Linked DNA regions of Homo sapiens: all the other regions are linked to region 4. The links are contacts of gene promoters, found by promoter capture Hi-C in blood cells and fetal thymus (Javierre and others, 2016). All regions are on one chromosome and are shown on one strand. Each heading gives the region's core, a stretch centred on a gene start or on the middle of the fragment in contact. The rest is flanking DNA. Distances are from core to core; before and after follow the strand shown.

Region 1 (3,502 bases), core at 703-3,202, 220 kb after region 4:
TTCTCTGTTTAACCATCGCTGGCTGCCTCTCGTCTATACAGTCCTGACCCCTGAGCATGCAGCTCTTCATGAATGGCCTTATGCCCTCAAGCCCTGTGCTGCCCCTTTCCCTTCCCTCCCACCACTGTTTCTGCTTCCTTTAACACCAGCTAGTCCAACTGTGTCCAACCACGCTGATGTACTTGACATTTCCAATCAACACTGTTTACTTTCAACACCCAGGTGAGAGGCTTCTCTAAGAACCCCTTCCCCAATTCTTCTGAGCCCTTGGGAAAAGTAAGCCACTTCCTTTAGTGTGATACTTCCTCTGCGTGACTCAGGCACTTTATACAGGCTTCTATTATAGCACTTACTGTATTGTTCATAGTTAACTTCTCCATTGCACTAGGAGGTCCCTAGAAGGCAGAGCCCTTAAACTTTTCAATTTTGTATTCCTAGCACATAGCATAATGGACAACTCACAGGCGGTACAGAACAACTACTTGGAAATTAATGACATTTTATGGGTCTAACTTGTTTTGGAATGGGTTTTCCTTAGGGGCAATCATACATACGCTGAAGCGGCTACAAGTGTTCCTTCTCAATCTCACAGTTTCAAATGTGAATTACTAACTAGCGAGGATGGAGTCCAATGATTTTCAACCTTGTCTGCTCATTGGGCTCACCTGCAGAGCTTTTAAAACTCCCAACATGCAGGCCATAGCACACAACAATGAAATCAGAATCTCTGTTGGTGGGATGCAGGCATTTGTGTTTTAAAAAACTCCCCAGGTGATTCTAATATACAGTTAAGCCTGAGAACCACTAGTTTGAGTGTTCCTAGGTAGTTAATTTAAAAAACCTTTTCCTGTATGCTCACTATGTAGTAAACACTGCGTTAGGCATTTGGAGGGGAGGTGGGGTGGGAAGGTAGTATTTGGCCCAGAAAGAGGAAGAGCCTCAGAATTTCTATATTAGACATAGTGCTTGCTTTTAGGAAACTGCAGTCCTTACAGCCTCCATGAGCAATAGCAAATGGTGATGGTATCTAAATTGTATGGTTTAAATCAAGGTTTCCCAACAGTGGTATTTTGGGTTAGATAATTCTTGATTGTGGGAGGCTGTCCTTGGCATTGTAGGATGTTTTGAAGCATCTCTGGCCCCTACCCACTAGATGCCAGTAACAAGCAAAAGCACTCCTCACTTCCTACTGCCACAGTATATAACAACCAAAAATGTCCAACATGTCCAAATGTTCCCTGGGAGTAAAGTCATCCTTTGTTGAAAACCATTGATATAGAGCTCAGTGTAGCATCCTTTGCAAGACCCCCAGGTGATCTGTATGCACATTAAAGTCTGAGAAACACGCACTGGTTTAAAGCAGTGATTCCCGAAGTGTGGCCCGTGAGCAGCATCAGCATCATCTGGGAACTTGTTGGAAATACATCCTCAGTCCCCACTCCAGACCTACTGAAACCAAAACTTTGCTTCGGTAAGTCCTTTGGGTGATTCTCACACTTAGGTTTCAGGGCCACTAACTAAAGGGGAAAAGGAGATTGGATGCACTGGAGCAATCAAAAAAGTCTTAGGAATAGAGCTTGATTTGGGCCTTGAAATTGAATAGGCGGTGGGGAGGGTATTCCAGGTGCAGAGAACAGCATGAGAGAGGATTTTCAGATGTAAATTAGCCCACACTCTTAAACTGCCAAGCCCCTCTTTTTCTCCTTTTCCCCTTAACTTCCTCAATCTGTTTGTTTTCTTGTGTTTTGGATAGAAAACGGTCTCCTCTGCAATTTATACTCCATGATGTGTTCATCAGCTTGCTCAAGTAATTCTTTGAGAATCTCAACAAAATGATCACTTGCAAAAACACAGGAGTGTGTTTTTGAAAAGTTGTGAATAATCAAATTTACCATCAGACATATGTACAAATCAGTACATATTTACAAATGTATTTCTCATTTACAAGGATTTTATATTGCAAACCATTTTTATAAAGTTAATAGCAATCCCCCAAGGGATATTTTTGGTGACTATAAATACAGATGTTTCTATCAAAAAATCTAGCATCCCAAATCTACCCTCAAATCTGCAACTAGAATGATATTTCTAACCCAGAAAATCTGATTCCTTTGTTTCCATGTTCAAAGCCTTTCAACGTCTCTCCATTGCCCCTATACAAAATGCAAACTGCTTACCATTTTTCACATGATTTTTTACCACCTGGATCCTATATATTTCTCATCTATAGACTATGGGCAAAAAAAATCTACAATAAACAAAATATCAAAAAATTAGGTGAAGACAGGCTGCTGTTATTTGTTTTATGACCCTGGGTTATTGTGGAACAGGAATTCCAATCGGCCCAAGGTTGGCCAGGACAGACCTTGTCAATGAGAGTTGACAATGGCACGGGAACAGATTGGACAATGTGGAACTTTATATGCAGTCATTTTTTTTTTTTTATTGTAGAGCTTGTATTGACTTCTTCCACAAACTATAGGAACATTTTTGGGTGAATGTACACTATAGGGATGCATATTCCTTTTGCCTCAGGCTCCAGGGTGACTCCACATAGCACTGAATCAGAGTGTTCCTTCCTCCTAATTGATCTGGGAGATCAAATGAAGGCTGATAGGGAATCTTGGGGATGTTGATTTGGATGTGAGACAGGAAACTTACAGGGTGGTTACAGGAGAATAAAAATTCCAGGCAGCAGTTTCACATAACTAGAGGCTATGGGCTGATAAGACCCTGAAAAACCAGGTGTGGACCAAGCTGACTGAGACTGACTGGACCCAACATGGAGCTGGATCCTACTTAGGTTTCACCTAGGACCTTATTATATGCTCATTAACATACAAATCACACACCTGCCAGTGCCATGACAGTTCCAAGAACATCTATACTTGCTGGAAAAGTGGGCGGCATGACAATTCTGAGAAATCTCCACCTTTTCCCAGGAATTTTCGTGAATATTCCACCCCTTGCTTTGGTTAAAGAAACCCATGAAGGTAGCAACCCCAAACCCCCTTGTGCATGACTCTTGTCTACAACCACATTCCCTTCTCTTGAGTGTGTAATTTTCCCTCTGCAACAAATCTCTGTACTTTCACTATTTTCTGACTCATCCTTTTTTTTTTTTTTTGAGACAGAGTCTCGCTCTGTTCCCCAGGTTGGAGCACAGTGGCATGATCTCGGCTCACTGCAAGCTCCACCTCCCGGGTTCACGCCATTCTCCTGCCTCAGCCTCCCAAGTAGCTGGGACTACAGGCGCCCACCACCACGCCTGGCTAATTTTTTTGTATTTTTAGTAGAGACAGGGTTTCACTGTGTTAGCCTGGATGGTCTTGATCTCCTGGCCTCCTGATCCACCTGCCTCAGCCTCCCAAAGTGCTGGGATTACAGGCATGAGCTACCGCGCCCAGCCCTGACTCATCCTTGAATTCCTTCTTGCAACAGTGTCAAGAGCCTGGACACCAGCTGGAGTCGAGGTCTCAACCATGTTTGGGGACCTCTCTGA
Region 2 (3,577 bases), core at 506-3,005, 200 kb after region 4:
AGAATATGTGCAAACATACTCACTATGGCATTATTTATAATGACAAAAATTGCCGACAGCCAAATGTATGACAATAAGGAAATAGTTACATATATTAGAACGTATATATGCCTTGAAATATTGTGCAACCACTTAAATTGTGTTTTTAAAAATGACTAAATTATTCTAGAAAATATGATATTAAGAAACGAGAAAAGGCTTTGCAGACGCCGCCGCCGAGGAAAACCGTGTGCTATTAGCCATGGTCAACCCCACCATGTTCTTCGACATTGCCGTCGACGGTGAGCCCTTGGGCCGCATCTCCTTTGAGGTAAGGGGCCTGGAAACCAAGAAGTGACTGCTCATCTAATCCATAAAGCTATGTTAACAGATTGGAGCTGTTTGCAGACAAGGTCCCAAAGACAGCAGAAAATTTTCGTGCTCTGAGCACTGGAGAGAAAGGATTTGGTTATAAGGGTTCCTGCTTTCACAGAATTATTCCAGGGTTTATGTGTCAGGGTGGTGACTTCACACGCCATAATGGCACTGGTGGCAAGTCACCACTGGGAGAAATTTGAAGATGAGAACTTCATCCTAAAGCATACAGGTCCTGAAATCTTGTCCATGGCAAATGCTGGACCCAACACAAATGGTTCCCAGTTTTTCATCTGCACTGCCAAGACTGAGTGGTTGGATGGCAAGCATGTGGTCTTTGGCAAAGTGAAAGAAGGCATGAATATTGTGGAGGCCATGGAGCGCTTTGGGTCCAGGAATGGCAAGACCAGCAAGAAGATCACCATTGCTGACTGTGGACAACTCGAATAAGTTTGACTTGTGTTTTATCTTAACCACCAGATCATTCCTTCTGTAGCTCAGGAGAGCACCCCTCCACCCCATTTGCTTGCAGTATCCCAGTATCTTTGTGCTCTTGCTGCAGTTCCCTTTGGGTTCCATGTTTTCCTTGTTCCCTCCCATGCCTAGCTGGATTGCAGAGTTAAGTTTATGATTATGAAATAAAAACTAAATAACAACAACAACAAAAAGAAACGAGAAAAAACTCACTGCATATATATAGAATGACACCAATTTTGTGGCAAATAAGCCATACATATAGAAAAAAATACCAAAAATCATGGTAGGGTTACCAATGTTTTCAATTTTTTTTTTGCTTGAAACTTCTCTGAATGTCCTAAAAGGTCGACAGGACTATGTGTCCCCCCTTCCCTTTTTTTGGTATGCCTTTTAAATCATAATAAAGGTACATGTTTAATTTAAAACAGAGAAATTCAGAACACAAGCCACTTTCAACTTCATCTAAGAGCCTATTCTATCAGATACATAACAGGAAACGGAGACCAAATATTTATCTCCAATATTGAAATAAAGCATAGTAGTTCCATATTTTATTGTTCAAATATAAGAAAACTCAGGAGAATCATGTAATAAACATTTTCTAGTTTTGCTAATAATCTCGATGGAAGGAAAAGAGCCAGGTCCCGTCACTGGCCCATCAGTGATGGGAGGGTAGCTATGGTCCTGTTGAAAGGCTGCCCTGATGTTTTGTTGGTTTCTGTAAACATCTGGCTCTTGAAATCCTAATTATTCAGGATGTAAAAGTTTTGAGAATTATAGTCATCAGAATTTCCAAAAAAGTTGTAATGTTTATTGAAGGGCAGAGGAAGCTTCCCTCCCTACCTCCATGTATTCATCTAAAGCTGTGATATCAGCAAAGGATTTTGGGTGGCCAGCCTGAATGTCAGTCAAAACTCCACGGATATAGGGATAACACAAGGGCAGTCAGGGCCAGGTGTTTATATTGAAATGAGCCAAGGAAGGAAAAGCAGCATTCAGTCTGTTAAGCTGTGTGAATTGAAGCTTTCCTGCAACTGCCAGAGTGGGATTTCGATCTCTCATTAGAATAAGTAAGAATAAGTAAGAAAACCTTTTAAAGTGAGAACTGCTTTAAAAACTACTGTATTGCTCAAATATGAATCTAGTGTGAGTGAGTCTTTTTCATTCTACGGGCTTTGTTTTTCAGGCCAGCTTATTGGAGTTGCAGAAATATTTTTGTTAAGCTGAAGGTCGCCACTGGCACGGTTTTAGGCATATCCCTTCACTTCACTGAGCCTGAATGTCCCCGTTTCCAATGTGAGAGTGCTTTCAAGTTTTAAAATTATAGAATTCACTGAAACAAGCATGTTTATTCACTCCTCTCTGTGCCGCCATACTGCTCGCATGAGTATATAAATATATATCACTTTAAGTAACTACTTTAGGATCAGGGTCTTATTTATACCAAAGGTCTTTGCATGTAAAAGCCAGTTGGCTCAACCAAATGGCCAAGAAAAGATGTCCCCTTCTCTCCCTAACCTCCATGTATCTTCTCATACCAGATGGTACAATCTCTGAAATTCCATCTTCAGAGGGTTATTATTTAGGGTTAAGTTTGATCCTTTTTTTGGTCACTAATGCTTCATGGTGAATGGAGGTTGGGAATATTGCTCTGCGATAAGACTGCCTAGGTTTGAATCCTAAATTCTACTTAGTTGTGAGGCCTTCGGCAGGATATTTAATCAATCTATCCTTTAGTGTCCTCATTCATAAAATGGGAATAATTTTTGTTCCACTGTCATAGGGCTGTTATAAGATTTAAATAGATGAAACATGTAAATTCTCAGTAAACATTCATTCCTACTTCATCTGGTGGGAGAATTTCAAAGCCAAGTGAACACCTCAGGCCAAGATGTGAAAAGGTCCCAGAATGGAAATCGTGACAGAATGCTAGTGATATAAACCTCACCTACTGCATATATTAGCTTAGGCCTGGGGTGCACACTACTGAGACTCACATATTTTTGGAGAAAGGTTTAACATTATTTTCTCTATTTCATGAACTACTTCCTTCTCATCCCCAACTTCCTTTTATAATTGGCCTCTCAACATTTTCTATCACTCCTTATGAGATAATGAGAAACAATGGGCTTAACTTTCCTCTCTCAGCTGTCGTGCATCCTATCTATAGGTTGCAAAGATCCCCTCTCTGCTCCACTCCCACTGGTCTATTCCTGGGAAAACCGAAAACCAAAGAAGGAACATGCAATAGTTGCTTGAAATGATAGGGAAATTCTTTTTTTTTTTTTTTTTTTTTTGCTGTTTCCTTAGCCCTGACATGACATTCCTTTTCTGTTTTTAAAAGACACAACACTGCACATTAACTGTCCTGTGGGAGAGACCACACCCTCTTCCAAGTCATCCCAGTCCACATCAGAAATGTGTCTTCTGCAAACCTGACACAAAAAGCTCCCCATTTTGAAAAGGTCCTGATAGAATTAATATGAATTGAATCGCATTCTTTTTACTGTAACCAACTATCTGGTGTTAAAAAAGACTTTTGCAGAATTCTGGGCAAGAATTATTAATGCATGTTAATGGGAAGCCTCCAGTTCTGCTTTGCTGGGGAAGGAAAGGCCAGCTCTCACAACTTCCTCCACACCATGTTGGGACCCAGAGCCAAATAAATGGTCCATCTGTCTTCCATATGATGAGTTTCAATTTGGAAAATTCAAGGCTAGTTTGAGTTATTGGAAGCAAGTTGGTG
Region 3 (3,612 bases), core at 94-2,593, 220 kb before region 4:
TTGTTCTTCCTGTGAGGCTCTTCCTGCCAAAGCCCTATTAGCTACACTCTCTGTACACGATCAGTCATTCTGACCTGAGTGTTCCTACCCGGCATCGTCCATGCACTGATAGAACTCCTTGCACTCCAGTATAATTACCCTCCCTCAGGCTGTGAGCTCCTGTAAAGGCAGGCTCTGTGCTTCCTCCTCTCCCAGTCTCCAGGGCCTAACCCGGTGCCTGTGCACAAGGTAGGCATTCAACACTCACTGTGAACAATGTTTTGCACCTCACAACTCTGAAAAAGATTATATCTTCCATAAAAATTATCTTAGTCATAAGCCCAGAATTATGGAAAATCTATAGAATCGGTGTTTAGCAGCCTCAGAGGGCCAGAGAAGTTTCATTAAGTATGCAACAGTTAATAAACGAGAATGAAAAAGTTAACCGAGGTGGGCAACAGGTGCTCCTAAGCATAGGGATCAATACACTTTGTGAAGAAAGTCAATTTTCTGTAAAGCCTTTGTGTCCATCTTTATCAATGGCTAATTAGATAACGCAGCTGCTGAAAAATGTTAGGCTTTAAAGTCCAAATGTCCTCTTGCTGCATTTCTGTCCTAGCAGACCTAAAGGGAACAGCGTTCAGAGCTGAGCTGTGGGAGTGTCTTCAACTGCCCCCACCCTCCACCCGCGAGTAGAAAAAAAAGCAGGTGCTGGGGACATCTCTGTTTAAAAAGCAGTCTTTGCCCTGTGGTCATTGGTAGGTGCCCAGCTGATAACATTTCATATCCCTCATCCATTAATGCCTCAAAGTATTACACCAAAATTTCATTAAATTTATAATGAACCCACTGCCTTCTGCCCCCACCCCCGCATTAGCATATCCTCAGGATTGATGAAGGTTATTTTTCTTTTTCTTTCTTGAGACAGAGTCTCAGTCTGTAGCCCAAGCTGTAGTGCAGAGGTGTGATCTCAGCTCACTGCAACCTCCACCTCCCAGTCTCAAGCTATTCTTCTGCCTCAGCCTCCCGAATAGCTGGGACTACAGGCGCACACCACCACGCCCGGCTAATTTTTTTTTTTTTTGTATTTTTTAGTAGAGATGGTGTCACCATGTTGCCCAGGGTGGTCTCGAACTACTGAGCTCAGGCGCCTTGGCCTAAGTGCTAGGATTACAGGCATGAGCCACTGGGCCCGGCCTGAAGGTTGTTTTTCATCACAGAATCCCAGCCTCACTCTTCCTTCCCAATTAAAGTGCTGACTCCAGCAAATCGTTCTCCCTCTATCCAAGTTAGCCCTCAGGCCTACCTAGGTTAAATCATATAAAGGTGCCAGGCAGTCATTCTGCAGACTGTCTTACCATATTTGGGCCTCAGTTCCATTCTTTCCTGTTCATCCATGTTATCCAGGATGGTGTACTTTGTTTTTTTCCTGATTTTAGTCCTTTTTTGTCTGAAAGGAACAATGAAAAGCTCAACTCAGATCTTTAGAAAGGTAACTGAGAGCTAGGATTTAACGCACAGTAAAGACACTAAAGGAAACATTTTGCCTTTATGATGTGATAGTTGGCGTCTTTTATTAAAGAAACATACACAAGGCCAGGTCAGAGCTCAGAGGGCCATTATGCATCTTGGAGAAACACATTTCTGGGTATAAACAGCCACATCACTCTTGCCCACCTATCTACAGGTCTCAGCTAAGCCTCAGGCTGCAGTGCCAATTCTCAACACTTGTGTGTTGGCCCAGGGAGCTCTTCTTCCTGAGTAATTCCTTATTCAGAAAAGCCTGGATGAGCAAATGTTCCCCTGAACCTGTATCACCCTGCTATGTCCAATGCTGCAGTAATGAAAAGGTGTCATGAACTAGCAATCAGAAAAAAATAGCAAAAATTATAATAAATTCCCACAATTAATTAGCAACAGCTGCTCCCCACCTTTTTCTTTTTTTTTTTTCCTCAACACATGAAAATTATGCTGGTCCCATGTGCCTCATCCTATGTACAGAGACTATTTGAAAATACACATCCAAACCATGCCAAGGCACGCAGAGAACAAAATAGTAATTTCATAGTAAAAAAGCAATATTCTGGGAGCATGATGATCAGAAGCATAGGTCTCAATTTAGCACTTGCTAGCTGGTGACTTAGAGAAAATTAATTGAGACTTTTGTGCCTCCATGTCCTCACCTGTAAAATGGGAGTAAGAATAGTCCCTTTCTCACATGGTTGATGAGAGGACTGAATAAGATAATACAAACAAAGCACTTAGCCATTAATCACAATGGCAAATACTTCATAAATGTTCACAGTTATCACTACTAGCATCATCATCTTCTACTTGATAGACATGTCACAAAGCTGCAGATGTTTAATGCCATACACAGTAGGGTCACATATGGCTCTGGGAAAACTTAACGGGATTTAGGCCTCTAAGTGCCTGCACCTGGCTCCCTTTCACCAGTCTTACTTTGGGAACGTAATCACAAATAAAACCAAAATAATCTATAAGTGATTTCTGAAAAATAACTATTAAAATACACTCCTTTTTTTTGAGATGGAGTTTTGCTTTTGTTGCCCTGGCTGGAGTGCAATGGTGCAATCTCAGCTCACTGCAACCTCTTCCTCCCGGGTTCAAGCGATTCTCCCGCCTCAGCCTCCCAAGTAGCTGGGATTACAGGCATGCACCACCACGCCCAGCTAATTTTGTATTTTCAGTAGAGGTGGGGTTTCTCCATGTTGGCCAGGCTGGTCTCCAACTCCTGACCTCAAGTGATCCACCCACCCTGGCCTCCCAAAGTGCTGAGGTTACAGGCATGAGCCACCTAGCCCAGATTAAAATATACGTTTTTTAAAAATCACACCTTTGGAGAGCAGTTACAATGTTTCACATGAAAGAGTGGACCTGATGCTCTCTTCTAAGGACAGAGGGTTGAGCATGGGGTTCTGGAAGATTTGGCCAGTGAGGTAGCTTGAGGCTTCTCAGGGGTCAGCTCCATGGAAAAAGGAAACACCTAAAGCAAAAGTTCTCTTTGGCGGTGTTATTGCCTCGCTTACAGTTTCAAATTTATTAAAAATGATTCAGGTGGATTCGATTATTGCTTTACATAATGAAAATAATCAAAACCTACCATTTGTAACAGTATACTTCCAGAACTCCTTCCTCTATTGAGACCTGTAAGGCCACTTAGGTACTTGTGAGATAGATATATATATATATATATATACACACACACACACACACACACACACACACACACACACACACGCACATATATATATATATATATCTGTATGTATGTTTTCATCACAGTTCCTGGCTAATAACTCCCACGGCCCTTGTTATAATGCTGGGGCACTTTAGGCCTCAGAAAACAGAATCTCCCTCTCTCTCTCTGACCTTCTCCTGCCTTCTTTCACCTGCTTTTTATTCTCCCCAAAGCAAGAAACTTCCCCTGCCTTTCTGTCTCGGAGCTGGCTAGAAAGACATTCTCTGACCTACTTTGTCTGATTATAGGTCATAAAACCCTCATTTCAGAAAGAGTTCTGCCTCCTACGAGGAGAATGGAGTGCTTTACAGAGAGGCTGAGAAGAATCTGGACAGGCCTTGCTGGGCTTCCCCACTCAGCCTGTTAGTATC
Region 4 (3,561 bases), core at 185-2,684:
TGCAAGACTCCGTCTCAAAAAAAAAAATTATTATTGAAAATCCCAAACAGATATAAAAGTAGAGGGAGTGAATAAAAAATCTTCATGTACTCATCCATACTAGCCTCAGCAGTTATCAACACAAGGCCAATACTGTTTTATTCGCACCAGTGGTTCTCAACTGGGGATGATTTTGCCCTGCGGAAGGTTATCTGACAAGGTCTGCAGACATTTTTGGTCTTCACAATTGGGATGTACTCCTGGTAGCTAGAGGGTAGAGGCCAGGGATACTGCTAAACAGCATACAATGCCCAGGACAGCCCCCACCACGAACAATTTGCCCAGTCTAAAATGTCAATAGAGCCCATACTGAGAAAGCTTGATTTATACCTTTTCCCTTGCTTCTCTCAATAATTATTTCAAATAAAATATATGGTATAAAATTTCATCTGTAATTACCATTTATAGGTAGAAGCTATTACAATAAAACCCACAATATTGTCATTACAACTAATCTCTTTTTTTAACCCATTGCTCATCAGGTAACCTTAAACAACTCATATCTTACCATCCCAAAATATTCAGTCAGTGTTCAAATTTCCCTTGGGTATTTTTTTAAATACAGTGTTTAGTTCAGACGAGATCCATACATTGCATTTGGTAATATGTCCCTTATTTGTACTCGATAACGCCTTCCTTCTGCTTTTTATTTTTAAAATATTTTAAAATTAATTTTTTTTTGAGACAGGGTCTCCCTTTGTCTGTAGTCCCAGCTACTCGGGAGGCTGAGGCAGGAGAATCGCTTGAACCCGGGAGGCGGAGCTTGCAGTGAGCCGAGATCGCGCCACTGCACTCCAGCCTGGGTGACAGAGCGAGACTCCGTTTCAATTAAAAAAAAAAAAAAGAAGGAAAAGGCTAGACGTAATTATTACCAAGGTGTTTCTGCTCCTTCAAATTGCAACAGCAGTTGTAATTTCAGTGCCTAGAACAGTAGTAATTGGCACGTATAAGGCGCTCAATGAATAGCTGCAGGATTAACTGATAATCGGTTGTCTCCTGAACAATTCCTACCGCACCACACCATAGTCAAAACACAAAAAGCCAAAATATAAAAGCCCCTAATACAACTACGAGTCCGTGGAGCCAGGGCTTTACACAAATATATGTCGTGTACTACATATTAATATATATGCACATACAATATTTTGTTCTTCTGGTGCTAACGACTAATGGAGGCAAATCTTTCTCCCTTTCGTAAAGGGCTAAAACTTTGCATTTTAAGGAAGTTCCAAGAGCAGGGTCGGAGGGGAGGGTCAAAGGGCACAGGCCTCCCAGCCCGCAGAAAACCCCCACGGTCCTCAAGTACTCGCTACCGTTGACCGCGCAGGCGCAGGAAGGGGCGGGGCCGAGGGAAGAGGCGATTCGCGGGATCCAGAGGCCCCGCCCCTCGTCTGCGTCAGTTGGTCACGTGGTTGTTCGGAGCGGGCGAGCGGAGTTAGCAGGGCTTTACTGCAGAGCGCGCCGGGCACTCCAGCGACCGTGGGGATCAGCGTAGGTGAGCTGTGGCCTTTTGCGAGGTGCTGCAGCCATAGCTACGTGCGTTCGCTACGAGGATTGAGCGTCTCCACCCAGTAAGTGGGCAAGAGGCGGCAGGAAGTGGGTACGCAGGGGCGCAAGGCGCACAGCCTCTAGACGACTCGCTTTCCCTCCGGCCAACCTCTGAAGCCGCGTCCTACTTTGACAGCTGCAGGGCCGCGGCCTGGGTAAGGGCGAAGGGGTTGTTGAACGGTCGCGGGAGCCGGGGCGGGGTTGGGAGGTGAGTCGAGGGACTGCCCCATTGGCTGGGTCGGTTTTGGCGCGCTCTCACTTCCGCGCTTCCTATTGGCTGGCTGGCGCAGTTCCCGAGGCGCGCGCCGCGGTTGGTAGGCTCGGACGCGCGGGGCCACACTGCCCGCCCCCTAGCCTGGCGCTGGGCCTCCGGGACAAGTTGGCTGGGTCCGGGCTTGGGGACTGCAACGCGGGTAAGGGACTCAGCCTGGGCTTGCCAGCTGTGGGGATGAGGCGAAGCATCCATCCTCTTGGCAGTTAAGTGGCTGGTCCTGATCTGAGGGATCTGCAAATTTGGCTCATGGAAAGAGGTGGCTGAATTCTGCGTCTCCCATTAAACGGATACTGGCGTTGTTGATACGGGTTTCGCATGGACCCTGTCCTGTGCCAGGGTTTTTAATCTAGCTATTAAAGGAACTGGAGAATAACAAGTAAGGGTTGCAAGGTCGCTGACAGGCGTGGGAAACTTGTGAAGGATTAGAATGCTAAGTGGCTTTCAGCTTTTTTCACACTAAGGTACGTTTTACGTCGCAACCTAGGACACAGCTATCTAACCAAATGAGACGTGATGGAAGCAATGTTTCTCGTCTCTTCAATTCCATTCTGTTCAGTTGCATTTTTCTAAGCAGTGTTGCTCATGACTCACTAATTTCGAGATCACGGCCCGCGACCCGCAGTTTGAAGAACATTGCGTAGGGTCTGTTTACTGGGGCCCGAACACCATTTTCTTAACATGAAATAGAGTAGAAAATAGCAGGATGCCCGCACAAATTAGATTGTTTTGTTTTCTAAGCTTTTTTTTTTTTTGAGACGGAGTCTCGCTCTGTTGCCCAGGCTGGAGTGCAGTGGCAGGATCTCGGCTCACTGCCACCTCCACCTGTCGGGTTCAAGCGATACTCCTGCCTCAGCCTCCCGAGTAGCTGGGACTACAGACGAGCACCACCACGTCCGGCTAATTTTTGTATTTTTGGTAGAGATGGAGTTTCACCATATTGGCCAGGCTGGTTTCGAACTTCTGACCTCAGGTGATCCGCTTGCCTCGACCTTCCAGCACTTTGGTGATCATGCAGGTGATCCGCCTGCCTCGACCTCCCAAAGTGCTGGGATTACAGATGTGAGCCACCACGCCCGGCCTTTCCTAAGCTTTTTTGTTTGCACATGTGTGTGCACGCGCCAGGACACAAGGTAAAATGTATTAATGTTAGAAGCCACTGCACTGAGTAAAGGCATGGCCACAAAAATTAGGGACATCTATCGACGAGGCACAGGCGCAGACACGGCAGGGGCCAATGGGTAGTGGGCAGTGGGCAGTGGGCAGTGGAGCAGCAGTTCAGATGCTGAGTTTGGCCCAGTGGTCTAGTCAACCGCATTACATAGATCCCTTTCTACCTTTTCCCTCTTTCTTGCTTGTTAGTCCTTCAGTTCATGTTACTGGTTAAACATTTCCTACAAATGTAAATGCATGATCTCATTTGACCAGATATTAAGTCTGTGTTAAGTTATTGTCAGAGCCCAGTTTATTATACCTTAAATCTGTCTTTGAATCAGGAAAGTTAAGATGCTGCTCTTTAGGATGGACCTGGGCATACCCTAGTATCTGTTTATTTTGCTTTTTCTGGTGACTATTTAATCCAGGACAATATGTTTAGAAATTTTAAACCAGTTTTAGAAATTGGTTTAAAATACATTAATTTCATTTTTTCAGCTATAATTATTATGTGTGTATATATGTAAAATATAGATATCAAGAGTCAT
Region 5 (3,960 bases), core at 153-2,652, 150 kb before region 4:
AAGAGATATCTAAGTGGAGCTGCTGAATAGGCCACAGGATAAATACGTCCAGGGTTCATGGGAGAGAGGGCTGGAGACATACACTGGGAGGCATCATTGTGTAGCTGGTATTCAAAGCCACAAGACTGGTTAACACCACCAAGAGAGTGAGTGACAATGGAAAAGGAATGTTCATGCTTGAGGGATGAACTTGAGTAGAAAGAGTGAAAATGCACGAGGGGGGAAATGGCCTATTTTCAAAATATTCCATGAATATGTCTCACCTAGTCACATGCATCTGCAGAGAGACCTTAAGGTGCAAGGGGGAGAAACTTAAAATAAAACAGTGCCTTCTGATCTTGAGAGTGCCATATTTTGCTGCAGCAGGCGTGCAAATCACACTATAGCAATTCCCTCGCTGCTTCAGCCAGAGCAAACCAAATATAGTTCCAGCCTGACTAAAAAGTGCCGACCATCTGAAATGACAATCACATGGATCCCATTCGCTGTTCATTCTAACACTGCTGGATTAATTGGCCTAAAATCCTGTTTTGTGTTTCCTTGGTCAATAATATGCTACTGAAAATAAGTTAGCAATTTATTTTCAATATATTTTGCCAATATTGGTCGGGAGTAGTGGAGTCAAGCTTCCTGAACTTGATATTCAGACATGAAAAAAGTATGCAAAACTGCTTCACAAATTTTTTTAAAAATCATTTTTGTCACCTGGACTGTGGCACTCCAGAACTTGGTTTTAATCTTAGCTAAGAAGATCCCAAACATGAGGCCTCTTCAATTTTTATATATAAAAAAAGGAAATGCTGACTATCCCTAGTTGTGTTTTTGTTTTTTGAGACGGAGTCTCACTCTGTCGCCCAGGCTGAAGTGCAGTGGCATGATCTCAGCTCACTGCAACCTCCACCTCCTGGATTCATGCAATTCTTCTGCCTCAGCCTCCCAACTAGCTGAGATTACAGGTATACACCACCACGTCCGGCTAATTTTTATATTTTTAGTAGAGACGGGGTTTCACCATGTTGGCCAGGCTGGTCTTGAACTCCTGACCTCAGGTGATTTGCCTGCCCCGGCCTCCCAAAATGCTGGGATTACAGGCATAAGCCACTGCTCCCGGCCCCATACTTGTGTTTTTGCTTTTTTTCTATCTTCAATCTTTCCCTAAAGACAACTGTATTAGTCTGCTCAAGCTTCCATAAAAAGAAAAAAGTACTATAGAGTCGGTGGCTTAAATAACGGAATTTATTTTCTCAAAGCTCTGGAGGCTTGAAGGGAGTATGCTAATTCTATTGGATAAAGGCCCCACCCTTATGACCTCATTTAAATTTAATTACCTCCAATAAAGTCTTTACCTCCAAATATAGTCACAGGGGTTGGAGCTTTTAACATATGAATTTTGGGAGACACAAACATTCATTCTATAATAGCACCTATGCGTATGCCTAGGAATGCAGCTGACTTCCTACTGCCAATTCAAAATAAGAAACAGAAACTATGTGGTATCAGCCAGGGTGGGCATGGAAGAAAACTGAGAAGCATACAGTCACACCTACTTCCCTTTTAGGGAGTCCCTGTCACATCCTGCTCATCCTCCCATCATCTCCCTTCCATTATGTTTCCACAAACCCAAGCTTCCAAATGAAGGTGTTGGCTGATATTACTTATTTAAGCCTCAAGGTCTTATTCTTTCTTAGGACGTTAGCATTTTCATCTGGAGATTCCTGAAGACAAAAAGGTATTTCAGGTACCTTTGACAGATGATGGTATGGGAGATATTTGGGAGATGGGCGAGTATCTTATGGTTCTCTACTCATAGTTCCTTAACACACTCACTTTATTATTGAAGCTTGAGAGAAGCAGGGTGTTGCAGCAACAGACCAAGCCCCCAAGTGTTCATTAAAAAGAGAATTGAGCTCTCTAAAGAGGCAGATCATGGAGACAAGAACCACCATTATTCCAGGGGACATCCAGAGACACAGCCCACACAAAAAATATATTCATATTAATCTATCTGGGAGGAAATTGGCATCATTAAGAAAATCTTGGAAAGCTCAAAATAAAAAAGAAAACTTTCTAGTTCAATATGGCAGATAGATGTATATCCAGCTCTCCTCTTTCCTGTGCATGGTCTTACTGGGGGGAAAAACTGTGAGGGGAGGCAAACAGGACATAAGAACAGACAAAAGAAAATAAACCATAACAACACAGGAAAATAAGAATGGACATCATTAATAGACCAATCATTTCAAAGAATTCCTGGAAGATAGAAAGCAGATGGCATGGCTCTGACTGGAAAGGAAGAGAGGAAACTCATTTCCTAGAAAAAGGAAGAACAGCACTTTTGGTGACAGCACTGGAGAAGCTCCAAGCCCTGAGCCAATGGATGCAAAGAGACAGAACCGGCCAAGGCACAATCGTTGGGGTGATCACCAAACGAAAAACAGATCTCAAGCTAAAGCCAGAGAACTGCTCTCTCAAGAGACGGAGATCTACCTCCATGGGGCCCTGGTGGCAGCACTGGGCCTGGGAGAAAAGGAGAGTCAACAGAGTCTGCGAATGCACAGCTCTGCCCTGGAATGAAATCTACTTTATTCTGAAGCACCACACCTCTAGGCAGAGCTCTCCTTCCAGTGGCTGCCTGGGGAGTGCTCACCCGTACACCCCAGAGGGAAACCTGACCAGACACCTCCCACTCATGCACTCAGATGCCACAGCAAGCCTCACATGAATCAATGAGTGGACAGCTACGTCAGAAAGCAGCCAAGTATCCTGATCAGTGGAGCCCCTCACAGATCAAAAGGAACAGGCAACCAAGGACTGCTAGACATTTGAGAAATTAAAAAAAAAAAAAAAAAAGAACATGAAAAAGAAAGGCTATGATAAACAAATAGAAGATTAAAGGAACAAAGAAAAACTTTAAACCACAATTAATATCAATAATTAAAATAGTAATTAGTATCTTTGGAAAAATTTGAAAGGATATTGCCTCCATAAAACAAAAATAGGCTGCTACAAATGAGGGGCAAAAATCAGAGAACAAGAAAAATTATTGGAAATTCAAAATAGGATTGTTAAAATTAAAACCTCAGTGAACAAGTGGAATAACTGTTGATAATGCTAGCAGCTAATATATATTAAGTACCTCCTATGTGTTAGGCCCAGGATCTGTTCTTCGCATTTTAAACATCCTAACATACCTAATAATCAAACTAACCCAGTGAGGCAGGTACTATTATTCTCCCCATCTCACAGGTGAGGAAACAGAGTTAAAGAGATTAATGGCTGGGCACGGTGGTTCACACCTGTAATTTTAGCACTCTGGGAGGCCGAGGCGAGAGGATCACTTGAGATCAGGAGTTCGAGACCAGCCTGGCCAACGAAACCCTGTCTCTACTAAAAATACAAAAATTAGTCGGACATGGTGGCAGGTGCCTGTAATCCCAGCTACTCGGGAGGCTGAGGCAGAAAAATTACTTGAACCCAGGAGATGGAGGTTGCAGTGAACAGAGATTGTGCCACTGCACTCTAGCCTGGGCAACAGAGTGAGGCTCCATCTCATTAAAAGAAAAAAAAAAGAGAGAGAGAGAGAGATTAAGTCACTTGCTCAGACAGCTAAAAATTAGCTAAGTCAGAATTCAAAGTCAAGCTATCTGGCTCCAGAACACCTGTTCTACGTGGCTGAAGGCAAGTTACAGATTTGAAAGGTAGATGTGAGGACATTCCCCTAGTGTGCACATGAACACAAACACACACATACACGCACACACACAAAGACAAAGGAAAAGAAAATATGGGGCAATGTTAGAAGGCATAGGGGAGAGTCCAGAATTTTCATCATCTAGCTAAGAGGCATTATAGGAAGAAAGAACAGAGACAATAGAGGGGAAGAAGTGAAGAAATAATAGAACAAAATTTCCTTTAAATGAAGAAAACCAGTCTTCAAATTAAAAGGGCCTACATAGTACA
Region 6 (3,880 bases), core at 1,321-3,820, 180 kb after region 4:
GAGGCACCACGCCCAGCCACTCTCCTATTTCAAACATTTTTTTGCCTTTTAAATGTCAGTTCAGGTTGACCACAGGGAAACTTTGTAACGACCAATGGGTCAAGCTTCTGAGGCACTGGTTCTGGCCCCTTTTCCTCCTCTCTCCAACCCTCTCCCTCTTGTCCCTGTTCCCTGACTTCTCTTAGGTGTCAAAAACAATCCAGGGCTCATTTCATCTCTGTACATCCATGTCACTCTCTCCTCCTTAACTCTTCAAATAGTATCTTTTTTTTTCCTTTTCTTAGAACCATATCTGGTGTGACAACAATTTGAAAAGCGCCACCCATCCTCTCTGAGACCACAAACAGCGCTGAAGGCAGTGAACCAAGACTTACAAACAAGGGTGTAGACCAAGGAAAATGCTGGGGGCCAGAGGAGGAGAAAGCAAGAAGATAGAAACACCATAGTTTCAAGAGGGAGGGGAGCAGAAAGCCGCCAGCTCTCCAAAAAACAAGAAGCAAAACCCAGAACTCAAACCTCATGAAAGTATCACGAGGTTGAAGCCTTTAAAAGGTGTTTTTACAGCAGATTTTAGAGACTTCTCACCTTACCAACGGTTATAAACCCGTATCCTTGCAAATTCAGCAGTAGAGTCATTAGATTGCCCTCTCAGCCTCTGCACGTGAAGGGTCTCAGGGCTTTTCAGGACATCTTTAGGGTCAGGTTTCGTGAAATAGGTAGGTTGGGCCAGCTTTCTGGGGACTCTAAGCAACCTTGGAGAAAATGGGCAGGAGTAAATAAAGGTATGCCAGCTTGCTTTTTCCAGTGGGGACTTGGCAAATGCCAAAAACAGTATAAATATTATATTCCCATCTTCTAATATCATGGAAACCCATGGTGGCAATGGGGCGCAGGGCTCACTAGCCACCCTGAGGTGAAGAAGTGGCCCCTCAGAGATCTGAAGCTGGTTAGCAAGAGTTCACCAGGGCCTAGCTCCTTGTCCCTCAGGGAAAGCCCCTGGGTGCTATAGCCCACCACCTGGAAGGGGCAGCCCCTGGAGAAATGTTAGAATTCTGGGTGAATTATTTTCTTATGAAATTTCATCCAAAGTTTTAACAAAGTACCAAATAGGAGAGTTGTTAAGTATTGTGAGTGAGTGAGGTGGAGGAAGCAGAGCGGGGAAGGGGTGGCTCCACTCTCTCACTATATTCACTGCTCATCCTAGAGATGACCTAGTGTCAAAAACGTTGCAAATGCAACCAGCTGCCTGTTGCATCCATGTAGTTCAGTTGTTGCTATTTACAGGGTAGTATAAATGCCCGGTGCTGCTATGAACCAAGGTGCTGAGTATCAAATGTTCCTGGAAGAGCACCTAGTAGTGTTTCATTGGATGGTTTCTAGTAAAAACTTTATGCAAAAGTAATATGGTATTGCTGATTATAGGTATTATCTGATAATAATAATCCTGTCAAGTACTTGCTTGGGCCAGATCACTCTGTGAAGGCAGAAAGTTGGCAATGCTTGTCTTAAATGCAAGATTCTTTCTCTTTTCTTCCTCCCTCCCTCCCTCCTATTCAACCATCCTTTATTCACCCTTGGAAAAATTTGGGCTCTGCATTCACTCTTGCACAATCCTGTAATCTCATGGTTTACTTTATGATGACAATATTAATGACAATAAAGGCACATTTTCCCTAAGATACTTGGGAGTATGTGTGGCTTATCCTTCTGTTTTCCTTACGAAGTAAAAGGGAGCTCAGTGTGTCTGTCCTCACTTTACTGATGCAGAGATTAAGGACAAGGAATCTAAGTGAATGGGCAGTAGGGGACATGAAACATGGCAGGGTCACCGGAGCAAGCCAAAACACTTTTGAAGAGCCAGTGAGTCAAACCTGTGGAAACCTATGCCAGAAAGTTCTTACAGGGATGACTGAACTGTTCCATCTGAACAAAAAGAAAATATATTCATTTAAACAAGCCTAAAGTGCAGCTATCTAACAGGCGAGGTGGATGGGGTTGGGTGCATAGGGTTTGCTGCTTTAGTGCTGATTTCTCAAATCTTTTATTTTCTCTGCTGACCTCTGCAGTACCATAGAACACAGTCCAGGCATTAGACTTGCAGCCACAGGATCTAGGTCTTGTGTGTCAGTTTTGAAGGCAGCATGCCCTGCTAGACTGCGACATCCTAGAAGACAAAGGTCAGCCAAGATCTTTGCGTGAGGCCTGATAGAAATCAATGTTCCAGACATTTTAAAAATCAATGACTTCATTGATTTCCAGAAGTTCTCTAGGCAAGAGCGATCAGAGACTTTAGAAGTTCATATCAACATGGAAGTGGTAGAATGACACCTGAGAGAGTAGTGGGTGGTCACCAGGTCACAGGTGTCAGGGTGATCGGAACACTCTGCCCTACAGTGACCTTTGCTCTACCTCCCAATATTAGGCAGAGGAACTACCATTACACAGAGCCTGATTATGGTTTTTATGCTCAGGAGAACTTGTGTTGTCTTCTAAGTGCTGCAGCCCCCAGGTTTTTTGTAAGAGAGGGGCAAATAGACATTTTCTCACGTAAATTAATCAGCTCATTCATGAGTTTTGCAGTCGAATCGCTGTCTTTGCATGGTGTTGTCTGCCAACTAATGGAATAGGGGGTCTTCAAATTTTGTTGACAAAGATAAGACTTCCGTAAAAGGATCCCTTCAAAAGCAGCTTAAAGAGAATTCCGAAGCAACTGTGCTTATAACAATAAATGTTTCTCCATCACTTTCTTTCCAGTTCCTTTGCCTCACGCTTCTGCTACTCTAGTTGTTTTTCCCAGTTTCTCTCCTGTTTACATGCGCTAAAAGAAAACTGTGTAAGGCACTTCATAGGAACATTAAAAACTGGTACAAAGGAAATGTCATGGTTGGTGGGGCGGAGTTTTTAAAGGTTTGGTGAGAAAAAGAAATCCAGACCTTGCTTCTGGCATTTTCTGGGTAGGATTTTTTCACTGGTCCCTAATTCACAGAATAATCAGCTTTGGCAGCAATATTTAGTTCTCCTTTCTTTCTACACACTGGGATGAGGGCATATGAGAACGGAACTTGTGGTAAAGACTACCTTGCCACAACAGGACCCCACCCTGCTTACCTTCCGCTGGATCCACAGTAGTCGTAAATATGTAGTGAATTGTAAATGTGGGGCTTCCTGTATTCTGCAGTGGACATTGCCACACCACTGTCTCCAGTGGAATGAACCAGAATGTAAAATTTATACCTCTTTTGAAATGCGATGGAGCAACATAGGATGACCACATTTTTTCTGTACTATATTGCACTCTTTTGCACAATGTGTAAGAACACAACATGAGAAACCCACAAAGAAGGAAATAGAACAACTGAGGTTGTTGGCTGGGTAGGCTGCAAGGTAAAGCGCAGAATAGTAAATGCCCCACCTAGCCAACATCCTCTGCCAGCTGTTATTCCTGTCACCTAATCTCTACTGCTCTCTCTCTATTATTCTTTCCTATCATCCATCCATTCATCCAGCCAGTCAGACAGCATTTACTGGGGATCCTGTCATGTTGGCTGCTGGGGATATAGACTGCGAGTAGTATGCTGGTAAAAACTAAATAACTAGCTCTGAGGTAAGGGAGCTGATTTGCAGTGCTTATGGATTTTCATAGTGCTAATACTCCCACCATGACTAATTTCAAGCTACTAATGCAACATCATTGAAGCAAAGTTGGGAAGAGATGCACAGTAGCACACCATTTCCACCAACCAGATACAATCGATGTAAATAACCTCCAGTGCACAGATAATAATAAAAGGTAGTAATGAGGAGCTGATGAGTATTGAGTATTTATTAGCATTGTTTTAAATGTAATTTATTTAATTGCACACTTATATAATTTAATTTT
Region 7 (3,448 bases), core at 655-3,154, 170 kb before region 4:
GGTGGCCTGGGCACCAGTATGGGTCTGGGTGGAGGCTATGGCGGGACCAGTGGTATGGAGGGCATCACAGCCATCACAGTCAACTAGAGCCTGCTGAGCCCCCTTAAGCTGGAGGTGGACCCCAACATCCAGGCCATGTGCACCCAGGAGAAGGAGCAGATCAAGACCATCAACAACAAGTTTACCTCCTTTATCAACAAGGTATGGTTCCTGGAGCAGCAGAACAAGGTGCTGGAGACCAACTGGAGCCTCCTGCAGCAGCAGAAGACAGTTTGGATGAATGTGGACTGCATGTTCAAGAGCTACATCAACCTATGGCAGCAGCTGGACATGCTGGGCCAGGAAAAGCTGAAGCTGGAGGCCGAGTTTGGCAACACACCAGGGCTGGTGGAGGACTTCAAGAACAAGTACAAGGACAAGATCAATAATTTTACAGAAGGGTGGGTGCGGTGGCTCACATCTGTAATCCCAACACTTTGGGAGGCCGAGGTGGGTGGATCACCTGAGGATAGGAGTTCAAGACCAGCCTGACCAACATGGTGAAACCCTGTCTCTACTAAAAATACAAAAATTAACTGAGCATAGTGGTGGGTGCCTGTAATTCCAGCTACTCGGGAGGCTGAGGCAGGAGAATTCCTTGAACCCAGGAGGCAGAGGTTGCAGTGAGCCGAGATCATGCCCCTGCACTCCAGCCTGGGTGACAGAGTGAGAAGACTGCATTTAAAAAAAAAATAAAAAGTAAAAAAATAATTTTAGCGATGGAGAATGAATTTGTCCTCATCAAGAGGGATGTGGATGAAGCTTACATGAACAAGGTAAAGCTGGAGGAGTCTCGCCTGGAAGGGCTGAATAACGAGATCAACTTCCTCAGGCAGCTGTATGAAGAGGAGATCCAGGAGCTGCAGTCCCAGATCTGGGACACATCTGTGGTGCTGTCCATGGACAACAGCTGGTCCCTGGACATGGACAGCATCATTGCTGAGGTCAAGGCCCAGTACAAGGAGATCACCAACTGTAGCCAGGCCGGGGCTGACAGCCTGTACCAGGTCAAGTATGAGGAGCTGCAGGCACTGGCTGGGAAGCACAGGGATGACCTGTGTTATACAAAGATGGAGATCTCTGAGATGAATCAGAACATCAGCCGGCTCCAGACTGAGACTGAGGGCCTCAAAGGCTAGAGGGCTTCCCTAGAGGCCACCATTGTGGATGCGGAGAAGCGTGGGGAGCTGGCCATTAAGGATGCCAATGCCAAGCTGTCCAAGCTGGAGGCCACCCTGCAGTGGGCCATGCAGGACATGGCATGGCAGCTGCATGAGTACCAGGAGCTGATGATCATCAAGCCAACCCTGGACATCGAGATTGTCACCTACAGGAAGGTGCTGGAGGGCGAGGAGAGCTGGCTGGAGTCTGGGATGCAGAACATGAATATCCATACAAAGACCACCAGTGGCTACTCAGGTGAGCTGAGCTCAGCCTATGGGGGCCTCAGCTACAGCCTGGGCTCCAGCTTTGGCTCTGGCGGGTGCTCCAGCTCCTTCAGCAGCACCAACTCCTTCAGGGCCATGGTTGTGAAGAAGATCGAGATTTGTGATAGGAAACTGGTGTCTGAGTCCTCTGATGTTCTGCCCAAGTGAATGGCCACAGCAGCCCCTCCCAGCCTACCCCCTCCTGTGACTGCCCCAGAGCCTGTGGGGGAGGCCACTGTGCAGGGGAGCATAGGGAACAGGAGACCCACCTGAGGCTCAGCGCTCGCCCTCAGCCGACCCGCGGGAGAGTTCACTGCCTGGGGTATCCCCCTTTGCCCATGCCTCCAGCTACAAAACAATTCAATTGGTTTTTTTCCAAAATAAACCCTCAGCTAGTTCTGCCAACTGCCCAAAAAAAAAAAAAGGAAGATGAGCAAATTGCAAATAACATTTATTGGGATGCAATAACTCAGGAATTGATATTTTGAATTAAGGGAGAATACCTCATAAGAAAAGGGCAAAAAGGAATGAAAAAGTAGAGATTTGCAAAGGAAAAAATATGGGTCTCTAAACATTAATGACATCATCTAAAACATTAATGAAGGTATTTTCTAGAGTATATTAAAGATGAAATAAGGGGACATTTTTTCTTACACACTAAGCAGGAATGAGTTTAATAAGATGGATGGATGGAGGGGAGTAAGTGATCTACAAGTCATGATGGGCTTTTCCAATGGCAATACTTTCTGGAGTGGCCCTCACATCATATAAAATGGTGCTGCCCAAAATTTGGGTGCTTCTGAATCATCTCCAGGTGCTGCTGAAAACCCAGATCCCAGAGCCACATCCCTAGGAGGTCTGGAGTGTGGCATGAGAAACTGCATTTTAACAAGGGTCTCGCTAAGGTTATCTTCATTATGGCTGTGTTACATTTGGACAAACTGTACATAACAGTTTTTCTAGTCATATCACCACCCTCAATCCTTGGTATACTCACATGGGCTCGGCCAGCCCAGTCTAGTCATGGGTCTTCTTAAATGATGCTCACCAGTGATTTTTTTGCCATGAGTGCATCCACCATAAGCAAACTGAGTATAATGAAAATAAAGATTTCTGATAAAAGGAAGTCTGGCCTTTCCAGCCAGATCTAGTATGCAATTCTTTTCAATATATAAACATAAAGTTTTCCTAGTATATATGAAATGTGATTTTATTTTCCCATGGAATAGTCATGATAAAAATAAACTTAAATTCCTGTTTACGGAAAACCACTCATGCATGAGGTCTGCCTTTCATGCTTTCACCTGTAAAATAATTCTATTGAAAAGCAAACCAACAGCGTCTTCACCTCAGGTTGATCTGAGTTGCTTACACTAGTCAAGAAACTCAAGTCCAACACGGGTATCTCCAGGGTAGTAGTTCCCTACCTGCAATTGTCACCAGCAGCAGCAATGAAGAGAGCACACCTGTGGGGGGCGCCATTGTGCACCACACAGTGGGTGATGGCAGGCTTCTGAGGCGGCCCTGAAGAGAGTTTGGTGCAAGCTTCCTTTGATGTTTTTTAGGAGCCAGATTTGGCCTCAAGAACTTCAAAGGAAAAACATAAAAGAGGAAGGAAGAAAAGAATAGGTAAATGTAGAAACATCCAAAATTATTTCTATCATTCATTCATGTCAGTGGGAAGCCTGTCCTGGTCACATCACAGAGCCACAACCCAGGCAAACATCCACCTAGAGCGTTTGTTCAAATAGCCAGTATAGTTCCTAAGAAGAGCCAAAGAATTTCATGCTTACTCTCCTTACAAGCTGTGGAAATAAACGAGGACCAGTCAAATGAGAAAAGCAAAGGCTATTTATTCAGAGCTTGTTATAGAAAGGCAGTCAGCCACCATCACTTGTTTTTGGCAGAGACTCAAAGACAGGCAGAGGAGTGGGAAAACTTTATAGCAGAAAAAGAGAAAGCCTCAGGTGTGCTCTAATTGG

What was found. The method cuts DNA at HindIII sites, captures the fragments that hold promoters and counts their contacts. A CHiCAGO score of 5 or more calls a contact.
Region 1: a contact is called between a fragment that was not itself captured here and the fragment with the promoter of GMNN in region 4, in 15 of 17 cell types (neutrophils, naive CD8 T cells, M2 macrophages and 12 more). The highest score is 18.9, in neutrophils.
Region 2: a fragment that was not itself captured here is called in contact with the fragment with the promoter of GMNN in region 4 in 2 of 17 cell types (neutrophils and naive B cells); the score reaches 6.7 in neutrophils.
Region 3: a contact is called between a fragment that was not itself captured here and the fragment with the promoter of GMNN in region 4, in 1 of 17 cell types (naive CD8 T cells). The highest score is 6.2, in naive CD8 T cells.
Region 5: a fragment that was not itself captured here is called in contact with the fragment with the promoter of GMNN in region 4 in 1 of 17 cell types (neutrophils); the score reaches 5.2 in neutrophils.
Region 6: a contact is called between a fragment that was not itself captured here and the fragment with the promoter of GMNN in region 4, in 1 of 17 cell types (neutrophils). The highest score is 6.4, in neutrophils.
Region 7: a fragment that was not itself captured here is called in contact with the fragment with the promoter of GMNN in region 4 in 2 of 17 cell types (neutrophils and naive CD8 T cells); the score reaches 5.6 in neutrophils.

What each region holds. Positions count from the first base shown.
Region 1 is chr6:24,996,447-24,999,948 of GRCh38, forward strand. It overlaps a transcript of RIPOR2 not described here. Among named protein-coding and RNA genes, the nearest start is that of RIPOR2, 62 kb to the left of the region's middle. The HindIII fragment of the contact is 8,245 bases long and covers 1-3,502 here.
Region 2 is chr6:24,976,178-24,979,754 of GRCh38, forward strand. It overlaps a transcript of RIPOR2 not described here and the pseudogene PPIAP29. Among named protein-coding and RNA genes, the nearest start is that of RIPOR2, 42 kb to the left of the region's middle. The HindIII fragment of the contact is 193 bases long and covers 1,660-1,852 here.
Region 3 is chr6:24,550,097-24,553,708 of GRCh38, forward strand. It overlaps KIAA0319, which reads right to left. Exons shown (of 21, transcript NM_014809.4): 20 at 1,338-1,429. Among named protein-coding and RNA genes, the nearest start is that of ALDH5A1, 57 kb to the left of the region's middle. The HindIII fragment of the contact is 7,406 bases long and covers 1-3,612 here.
Region 4 is chr6:24,773,503-24,777,063 of GRCh38, forward strand. GMNN (geminin DNA replication inhibitor) reads left to right here and starts at 1,435. Exons shown (of 7, transcript NM_015895.5): 1 at 1,435-1,742. RefSeq lists an enhancer at 2,350-2,429. The HindIII fragment of the contact is 2,242 bases long and covers 356-2,597 here.
Region 5 is chr6:24,619,488-24,623,447 of GRCh38, forward strand. The region is part of intron 1 of KIAA0319; the gene reads right to left. Among named protein-coding and RNA genes, the nearest start is that of KIAA0319, 25 kb to the right of the region's middle. The HindIII fragment of the contact is 441 bases long and covers 1,183-1,623 here.
Region 6 is chr6:24,948,813-24,952,692 of GRCh38, forward strand. It overlaps LOC105374981 (a long non-coding RNA gene), which reads left to right. Exons shown (of 3, transcript XR_007059514.1): 3 at 285-1,679. It also overlaps a transcript of RIPOR2 not described here. Among named protein-coding and RNA genes, the nearest start is that of RIPOR2, 15 kb to the left of the region's middle. The HindIII fragment of the contact is 4,936 bases long and covers 103-3,880 here.
Region 7 is chr6:24,598,156-24,601,603 of GRCh38, forward strand. It overlaps KIAA0319, which reads right to left. Exons shown (of 21, transcript NM_014809.4): 2 at 2,894-3,053. The coding sequence starts at 2,948. It also overlaps the pseudogene KRT8P43. Among named protein-coding and RNA genes, the nearest start is that of KIAA0319, 46 kb to the right of the region's middle. The HindIII fragment of the contact is 2,210 bases long and covers 800-3,009 here.